Linked DNA regions of Homo sapiens: all the other regions are linked to region 2. Evidence: promoter capture Hi-C in 16 types of primary human blood cells and fetal thymus (Javierre and others, 2016). All regions are on one chromosome and are shown on one strand. The core of a region is centred on a gene start or on the middle of the fragment in contact, and the rest is flanking DNA. Distances in the headings are between cores, read along the strand shown.

Region 1 (2,912 bases), core at 243-2,742, 270 kb after region 2:
GCAATACTTCCACCTCGGGCTCCCAAAGTGTTAAGATTCAGGCGTGTGCTACCAGGTCCAGCCATCTGCCTTGGAATTAACATAATTAATTTAGCCCATCGCCATTCACTTAAAAGTCTTCCGGAGGTAACATCAAACAAACAGCAATAAAAAAGGGACTAGTGGAGCCCTGGAGGAGCCGAACTTCCTATCTCATGGGTCACAGTCAGAAATAGTGGGAAAGACTGCATAGTGAATAGGTAGCACCAAGAAAACACATTTTGATACCCCACTGATCTTCACGGAGGACGAAGAACCAAGTTAATCTTATGCCTATTATTACATTCATTGGGTTAACAGTTACAAAACAAAAAGCAGATGTCTATTAATCTTTAATGGGGGAGCTCATGTTTTCTGTTGGTTTTGTTTTTCCTCTTTCAGTTACTTTTGCTATTTCTTTCCGCTACTTAGAATGCCTTTTTTGCCTAACTTCCTTTTTCCTTCAAGACTAAACTCTGTAGCCACTTCCTCCAGGAATTATTCCAACTCTGCCCTCCATTACTGTCCTGTAGTACCCTACGAACATTTTTATGTTTTTCCTTGCAGTTCTTTACCTCTCTGACACTTCACTACTTTATAAGCTTCTTGAGGACAGGTTATCTTATGTCATCAAATATAAGTTATCATTGGTTTAAAGATTATTTTATATAGCAGTCATTATTTTATATAGCAGTAAGAAAGCAAAACAAACAAACAAACAAAAAACTACCAGTTATAACTGTGGGACATCCTAGATATAAGATGATCCCAATTTCACAGAAAAAAATGTGGGAGAAAAAACCATGAATCTCAGAATCAAAATTCTGCATGTCTTAACTGACTTTGTATCTTCAATAACCACCAAATGTCTGGGCATATAGAAAATCCATATTAAAATATTGCAGAATGGTTGAATAAATTAATGAATGGATTCAATCTGATTGGTGCCTTTCATCAATATGCTTTTAATGTATTAAAATAAAACAGTGGAATCAGAAAAATAAATTTTTTTAGATTTTAAAAACCAACACCAGCTGGGTGTGGTAGCTCATGCCTGTAATCTCAACACTCTGGGAGGCCGAGGTGGGAGTACTGCTTGAGCTCAGCGGTTCAAAACAGCCTAGTCAACAAAGGGAGACTCCGTCTCTACAAAATAGAAAATTAGCAAGGTATAATGGTGTGCACCTGTAGTCTCAGCTACTGGGGAGGCTGAGGCAGGACGATCGCTTGAGCCCAGGAGTTCAAGGTTGCAGTGAGCCATGATCACAACACTGCACTCTAGCCTGGGTGACAGAGCAAGACCTTGTCTCAAATGTAAAAACAAGAAACTAAAACCTATGGATATAATTTACAAATGTAATGGTTCTGGATTTAATTGGGTAATCTAAAACACCAGGAAGAGAAAAAAAATTTTGTTTCCTAAATATAACTGTTGTGGCTTCATATTTTTAAAAAACCCTACAATGTCAACTGTCTGGATGAACAGATGTTATTCTATTACAGTAGATAAAAATGAAACATAGTGTTTTATAGTATCCATTCTTATCTACACTAATAAGTAAATGGATTGTAAATGATCCAAAAGAAATACTTGTTGTTAATCCTAGATTAAATTTATAAGGGGAAGATATCCTAAATCAAAAGATAAAAAGAAAAATATTTTAAGTTTAGTCCAAGTGAGATGTTACAAGTTGCCTTGTCATTGCTTTGAGATAACAGTAAAGTCTAGAAATCATTGAGAGGTGTAAGTGGTAGAAAGGAATGGAAAAACTAAAATCCTGCAACAATAAAATTTAGAAATCTAGTTTTCTTTCCTTTATATTCTTCTGTGTCCTCTAGAAAGGAACATTATAAAAATAGCTACTCCTTACCAAGCTAGATGCTTTACATACATTATTTCCAATCTTCAATAACCTGTGGAGTAGATATTAATACCATCATTTTATACATGACTACATGGAAGCTGTGAAATATTAAATGACTTATCTAAGGTTGCATAGCCAGTAAGTGGCAGAACCACCTCTAAAATTTCAACTCTAAAGTTTCTGGTCCAAAGAAGAAAGCTCAGACAAAACGGAGAAATCAGAAACAAGAGAACCAATAAAATGAAAATAGCATTATGTCAATTTGCACAAAGAAGCAGTAAGGTTGCCTTGAGAAAAAATATTAAGAATTCTAGTGACTGATAAATTCTAGAATTCCATTTTATAATGTCTAACAGTAGTGAAATAATTAACCCAAATAACTTCTAAACTGTATATAAACAATAATTAAAGACTACCTTCACTAATCTGATACATATATTCTTCACAGACTTACCACTACAGAAGACTGATTAAAAGCTTCCCTATGATTCTACAATTTCAAATGATCTCTTTTCATCTTTCTTATTAAGGTAGCTAGTTATTGCAGTAGGGGTTAAGGGCAAAGGCCCTGGAGAAAGACAAGACTGGATAAAATCCCAACCTGTTAGCTATATAACTGTGGGCAAGTTACTTAACCTCTCTAAACCTCACTTTCTTTACCTGTAAAATAGGGTTATATCTGACTCACACCAGAGTTATTATAATGAGCAAATGAGATAATGTGTATAAAGCATTCTATTATACATAGTACCTGGTACATAGTAAGGGTCCAATAAATTTGTTACAGTGATATATATTTGGAGACTTCTGTTTTATTGGGATATTTTATATTAAATATAACTTCACTCTTTGTTACTAATGCTACTACTGGACATTACGGTTAAAGTCTCAACATTTCTTTATTAACTGTGGGGTTGTAACACAATGTGCAAAGAAAAGAAAGGTATTACAATTCCATTCAAAGAGCATACCTTTTCAGTGTCAGGACAATATACCAACAGAATTTCTAACAAAACCGAGGTTTTACAA
Region 2 (2,751 bases), core at 204-2,703:
TAGACTGCCTCTAACAGGGACTTTTTGATGGAAAATGTGGCCACAGACCCCTGCCCTCAACTTTTTTCCACATGCTGCGTAAGGATCCTCCTTGAGGCGATTTCCCCGGATTGTTCGTACGGGCGAAGCCCATTTCCCACCCGAAAAAACTTCCCAAACACGTCTACCTGGGTGGACTTTTAAAAGTGCAAAAAAGAGTTTTCGTTCCAACTCTAAGCTAGGCGAATCTTTTAAATGGCACCTCCTCCTGAAAATTAGGCACTTTATTCCCTTTCGAGGAATTTCTACCCCTTGTTTCTAATCTCCCCCACTCCCCCACCCCGACAGGCGGGGTAAAAAGTTTGCACAGGATTAAGTGTGAGGGCAAGTCAAGGAGCCTCCAGGCGCATCGCAGTGGGGAGCACTCGCGCTGCCCGGGCTGCGGGGTCGGGCGCCGAGAGCGGACCGGGCGCTGGGTGAGGAGGAGGAGAACGAAGGGGGAGCCCGCTGAGTGAAAAGGGGCCGCGGCCGCCGCTCATCAAAGTGCTTCCCCCTCCCCCAAGCGACACTTTCCTTTGGAGTCCGAATAAAATACGGTAACAGAATATGATGGAGGGCACACTGTTTCCTTAACTGCTTCTCAAAGGACCCGGGAGATCTTCTTAGGACCTTTAATAAGGCTTTGGTCGGTTCTTTTGTTGATCTCTCAAAATCAACTCCTTCTAATTGAAGTTGGAGCTGAAAGCGAGCTAATGTTCAAAGAAAGTGGCCGCCAGACCAACGAAATTACATTTTTTTTTTGACGATGAGGGAACATCTAATCAAAGAGGCAGGGGAGGAGGGGTGGGAGTGGGGGCGTACGAAGGAGAAAAGGAGGTTTTACAAGATCCTTCTCTGGTTCACAAAAGTCAGCGACACGGGCGCTTCTCTACAGAACAAAGACACCGCGGCCCATTCACAAAAGGGAGAGAAAGAGAGAAAGCTGAATAAAAGAACGAGAGAAATGGGGAAAAAATGAGAGAGAGAAGGAGGGAGAGAGTGAGTGAGAAAGAAGCTTTAAGAGGAAAAGAAACAGTGCAGAGCGCAGCGCTAACCCAGGCGGGGACACACCTTAGGCTCGCGCAGGCCCCTACCAGGAGTAGCCCGCGAGGCCCGCGGTCAGCCGCCCGCGGCTCGGAGCCACTGTGATCGTGCTGAGGTTTAAAGAAAGCAACGAAATATACCCCTTCCTTAGGTTCCGAGGAAAGGCGCCGGCTGGAGCGCACTAGTTTTGGGGGAAAGAATATGCGGACGTCCCGGGGTGCGCTTCGCCGGCGTCCGCGTCCATAGCCCGGCGCTGCCCTAGTCCCGGCCAGTCCGCTGTGTGCCGGGGTTGGCCCTCCAGTGCCGGGGCGCGTGACCTTGCCCCATTCCTCCACCTTAACTCATTCCTCCCTCCACCAGGCCCTGTTTCGCCTGCAGCCTCAGCACCTGACCTGGGTCCGGCGCAGCGAGGTGGGACGGCAGTGCGCTCTGGAATGTGCCAGCGCGGTCCCCGGGGTACGCCTCGCGGGAGGCCGGCGCTCTCGGTTCCAGATGCTGCCACCATTCTCGGGGAAGTTGGGAGGTATCAAGTAGCACGGATTTTTTTTTTCCTAATTAGAGTATTTATCTAATCCCAAATTGCAGGCGAATTTTCTTAACGCTCAGCCCATAAAACCCCAGGATTAAGAAAAGAAAGAGGAGAGGGGGAGAGGGAGGAGAGTGGAGAGGGAGAGAGACTGGGATGAAAGTTTCTTGAAAGCAGCGCAGAGGATTGAGGCGGCCGTCGCTAGGCAAATGTCCAGGTGGGAGATGCTGGGCCAGAAGCCATGACCGTTCCAGCATCGGCCGCGGTGCGGGAAGGGGAAGTGGGGACACCACTGGAGGAGGTGAAGCCGTCCAGCTCAAGGCCCTCGAGCCGGGAAGGGGCGAGGGAGCTGGGTGTGGAGACAAGGATCCAGCATCCAGGTGACCTCCAGGCCCGGCCAGGCTCTGGAGGACACTTGGGACAAGGGGAGGGCTTTGGATCTGAGGCCGAGGGATCTGACCAGGGGCGGAAGTTCTGCTCCGGCCCGCAGACTGTGCCCAAGCAAGCCCGCTGCCAACGCCCCTGCTCCTCTGCGACCCTCGGACCGATAGTCTCTTTTCCCGCAGCGCGGGCTTTCGAGTTCCGGGTCCTCCGGCGTGCTGGGCTCGTGCCCGTTCTCGGGAGCCAGCGTCTGGGCACCACGCAGCGATGTCCGGATGCAGCGCCCTTGCCGCGGGCCTTACCCCGCCAGGCGCCGGAGTCCACGCTCCACCGCCGCTGAGGGGCGTTCGGGCGCCACCGAGCAGCCCAAATTGAAACCCCGAGAGGCTCGGGACTAAAGCTGAAGGGGCAGGTAGAGGGGCCGCCCGGCGGTCCCAGACCATCCTAGCAAATCTGGGGCGAGGGAAGGGTTGTCAGTTGGCCGATTGGGAGCGGCTTCGGGAGCGAAGGAGCTGCTTTTCGGCGAGGCCCCTCGGGAGTGAAGGTTCCTCGAATCAAGCGTAAACTGGGTGGGTGCTGTTGGCCGCCCAGGCCCCAGGCTGCTTGGGGCGGGCGATTTCTGTCTGCTGAGTTTTCCCGGGGTTAGAACGGGATTCTGAGAGCGTTCCCCAGAGAGCAGCAGCTCTCTCTCTGCTCTCGTGCTCGAATAAAGAGGGCAAATACCGACTTCATTTACTTAAAATAACTTTTCAATAACTTAAAAGAAATGCTCATCATGAAGG
Region 3 (2,944 bases), core at 402-2,901, 450 kb before region 2:
GAGGCAGGAGAATTGCCTGAATCCGGGAGGTGGAAGTTGCAGTGAGCTGAGATCGCGCCGCTGCACTCCCGCCTGGCTGACAAGAGTGAAACTCCATCTCCAAAAAAGAAAGAAACAAACAAAGGACCAGACAGAGGCCTAATGCATTTAAAAGTTTTTTGTTTTTTTGAAACTTGGTCTTGCTCTGTCATCTAGGCTGGAGTGCAGTGGCAGGACCATAGCTCATTGCACTCTCCAACTCCTGGTCTTGAGCCATCCTCCTCTGTCAGCCTCCTGAGTAGCTAGGAGTACAGGCAGGTGCCACCACACCTGCCTAATTTTTATTTATTTTTTGTAGAGACAGGGTCTGACTATGTTGCCCAGGCTGATCTTGAACTCCTGACTTAGAGCAATCCTTCTACCTCGGCCTCCTAAAGTCCTTGGATTATAGATGTAAGCCTCTGCACCTGGCTTTCTCTCTTCATTTTTTGCACACTTTTAGGTTCTAAAGCTTGTTTTAAAAATAGGGACTTAGATAGTATTTTGAACATAATGCTTTGTGCTTTTTGCATTTTGCTTCTATTTAGTTGCTTAGTGTTTTTGGTAAATCTGAAATTTTATAATTAAAAATACTACCTTTGGTATTTATTGAATACTTGCAGTGGGTGCTCATTTTCAAATAAATATGTCCTGAATACTTACATTTAATATTTAGGTTGAAAAAGTGTCCTAGGCTTCTGAACTGATTTAGAACTTTATATGCCATGAGATGACAGTTGTAAAATAGATCTAGATACACATTCAATAATAAATTTAATATTAACATTAGAAGCTAAATGTCACTAAGGGAGCTAGAACATTTATTTGATAACTGCTATTTGCCTAAACTTAAAGGATAACATTTTTAGTATTATAGACAATTAGTTATGTAATACTCACTAATAATGCTCAGCACTTTTAATCTTCAAAGCATTATACACACTAGTTAATCCTTACAACACCGTTACAAATGTAGGTCAATATCATTATCCCTGTTTTTGCAGGTGGGGAAATTGAGGCAGAGGTTAAATGATTTGGAGTAAGTTTGTCATAGCAGGATTAGAATGAAGGCATTTTTGGCTTACAGCCCAGCATTCAGAACAGTAGAACCACACCTTTAGCAGACTTAACCTCTATGTACTTGATAAAACATTACTTCTCATTAAATCATATTGAGGTCATCTCTGCATTAAAATTCAGAACCAACAAGTTTGATCACTGTATAACCACTTTACACACACACACACACACACACACACACCCCCACACCATTTTCTCTTTCAAGGCTTTCTTGACACTATATTATCTTAGTCTGTCTTTTAAATTGACTCTTTATTGGAGAATTACCAGACTATCTATCTTTGACTTTATTTTTCTTCTGTGATCTTACTCAATGGCTTTACTCTCTATTTAGAAAATTCCAAAGTAGTTTTTATGTAGTCCAGGCCTCTCTTCTGTATTTCTAGCTACCAGCTAGACATATCTACCCAGAGCATTTCCTTGTACCTTTATCTCCCACTGAGTCTAAAATTCAACTTATTAACAAAACTTGCTCTTCTTCTAGACTAACCTGTTTCTATGTGTGTTTCAATCCAAGTCCTGCCCTTGAAACTAGGATCAACTAGGTGGGAACAAGTCTGGGTAAGGGGTTCCTGGGAACTTGATGTGGCCAAGAAGAACAGTATTCATGGGTCCTTTGACAGGATGAAGAAGTTGAATCACAGTTTAAGAAGAAGAGCCAGAGTTACAAACTGAGGGGCAAGGCAGAAGTAAAACAGGAGACCACGTAGCCAGGTTAGTAGCTAGGAACATTGATGTGTGTGGGTTCAGTAGTTGAGGCAGTCATTGTGAACAGATGGAATGCACTGGTACCCATTTACTGGGCACATGATGATGCAGGCATGCCTGTTCAGTGACGGCATGGTCAAGGCAAGGGTCACTATATGAGCAGTAACCAGATCCCCATCCATTGATGGTCACTCCAGATTCTTCTCTCTTACTCCCTTACACTGTCTCTTACAAATCATCAGTGCCCATATGCTGTCGATTCTTTCTTTACAAGATCACTTACATCCCTTTCTTTTGTTATATTCCAGCTGCCACCACCCCAATTCAGGTCCTTGTTACTGAATATTAGTGTTGTCTGTTCCTTTAATACCTTTCTAACAGGTCACTCATATCAAACTTTCCTTCACTCCTCCAATATTTTACCCACCAGTTAATCTTCCAACAATAATTCTGATCTATTAATTATTCTTTTTAAAAATACCTTCCCAGATCAGAAACTTCATTGTTCCTAATTAGCTACCTAGCAAATACAAAGTCCTAATTCCTGAGCTTGGCAAAGACTTCCTTATTATGGCTCTGATTTATCTCTTCTACCTGTGCATCAAACCAGATTGCTTATTATTCCTCAAATAAGCCTTGCATCTTTCTAATTTATTCTTTTGGGTATTGTTCCCTCCTTTTTATCTATTTCCCTCTAGCAAAATCTGACAATCCTCAAATGCCCTTTGAACCCCCCTAGCCCATTGTGTATGTTACCATATTAGCACTTACTACACACTTCGTATTGTTTTTGTGATTATTTTATCTGCTACCCTGATTATATGGTGTTTGATAGTAGAGGCCCATTCTATAAAACTTTGTATCTATGACTCAGTAAACATATACATAAAGTGCTCAAATTGTGATATTTAATTGGTATTTAGATCTCATAAGGCCCTGTGAGGTACAAATGAGCCATTGTTTCTAGTACTCCATTCTTTGGGTACAATAGGTTAGTCCAAGCTTGAGGTCTCCTTATTTACCTTAGGTTCTTTGCAGTCTTCTGCTCATATACCTCCATGTTAAATGTCTTATGGATGCCATGCTATCATTTATCCTTATTATAACTACAGCAATGTCTTCTATTTCTTAATTCTTT

Evidence for each region. Contacts are between HindIII fragments. The CHiCAGO score rates a contact against its expected background, and 5 or more counts as called.
Region 1: a fragment that was not itself captured here is called in contact with the fragment with the promoter of EHBP1-AS1 in region 2 in 1 of 17 cell types (megakaryocytes); the score reaches 7.0 in megakaryocytes.
Region 3: a fragment that was not itself captured here is called in contact with the fragment with the promoter of EHBP1-AS1 in region 2 in 1 of 17 cell types (megakaryocytes); the score reaches 5.9 in megakaryocytes.

What each region holds. Positions count from the first base shown.
Region 1 is chr2:62,775,409-62,778,320 of GRCh38, reverse strand. The region is part of intron 5 of EHBP1 (EH domain binding protein 1); the gene reads right to left. Among named protein-coding and RNA genes, the nearest start is that of EHBP1, 71 kb to the right of the region's middle. The HindIII fragment of the contact is 1,740 bases long and covers 623-2,362 here.
Region 2 is chr2:63,047,223-63,049,973 of GRCh38, reverse strand. It overlaps EHBP1-AS1 (EHBP1 antisense RNA 1), which reads left to right and starts at 1,453. Exons shown (of 4, transcript NR_033389.1): 1 at 1,453-1,585. It also overlaps a transcript of OTX1 not described here. RefSeq lists enhancers at 1-642, 643-1,392, 6-1,414, 1,393-2,141. The HindIII fragment of the contact is 1,878 bases long and covers 1,036-2,751 here.
Region 3 is chr2:63,498,790-63,501,733 of GRCh38, reverse strand. The region is part of intron 1 of WDPCP (WD repeat containing planar cell polarity effector); the gene reads left to right. Among named protein-coding and RNA genes, the nearest start is that of WDPCP, 88 kb to the left of the region's middle. The HindIII fragment of the contact is 2,318 bases long and covers 493-2,810 here.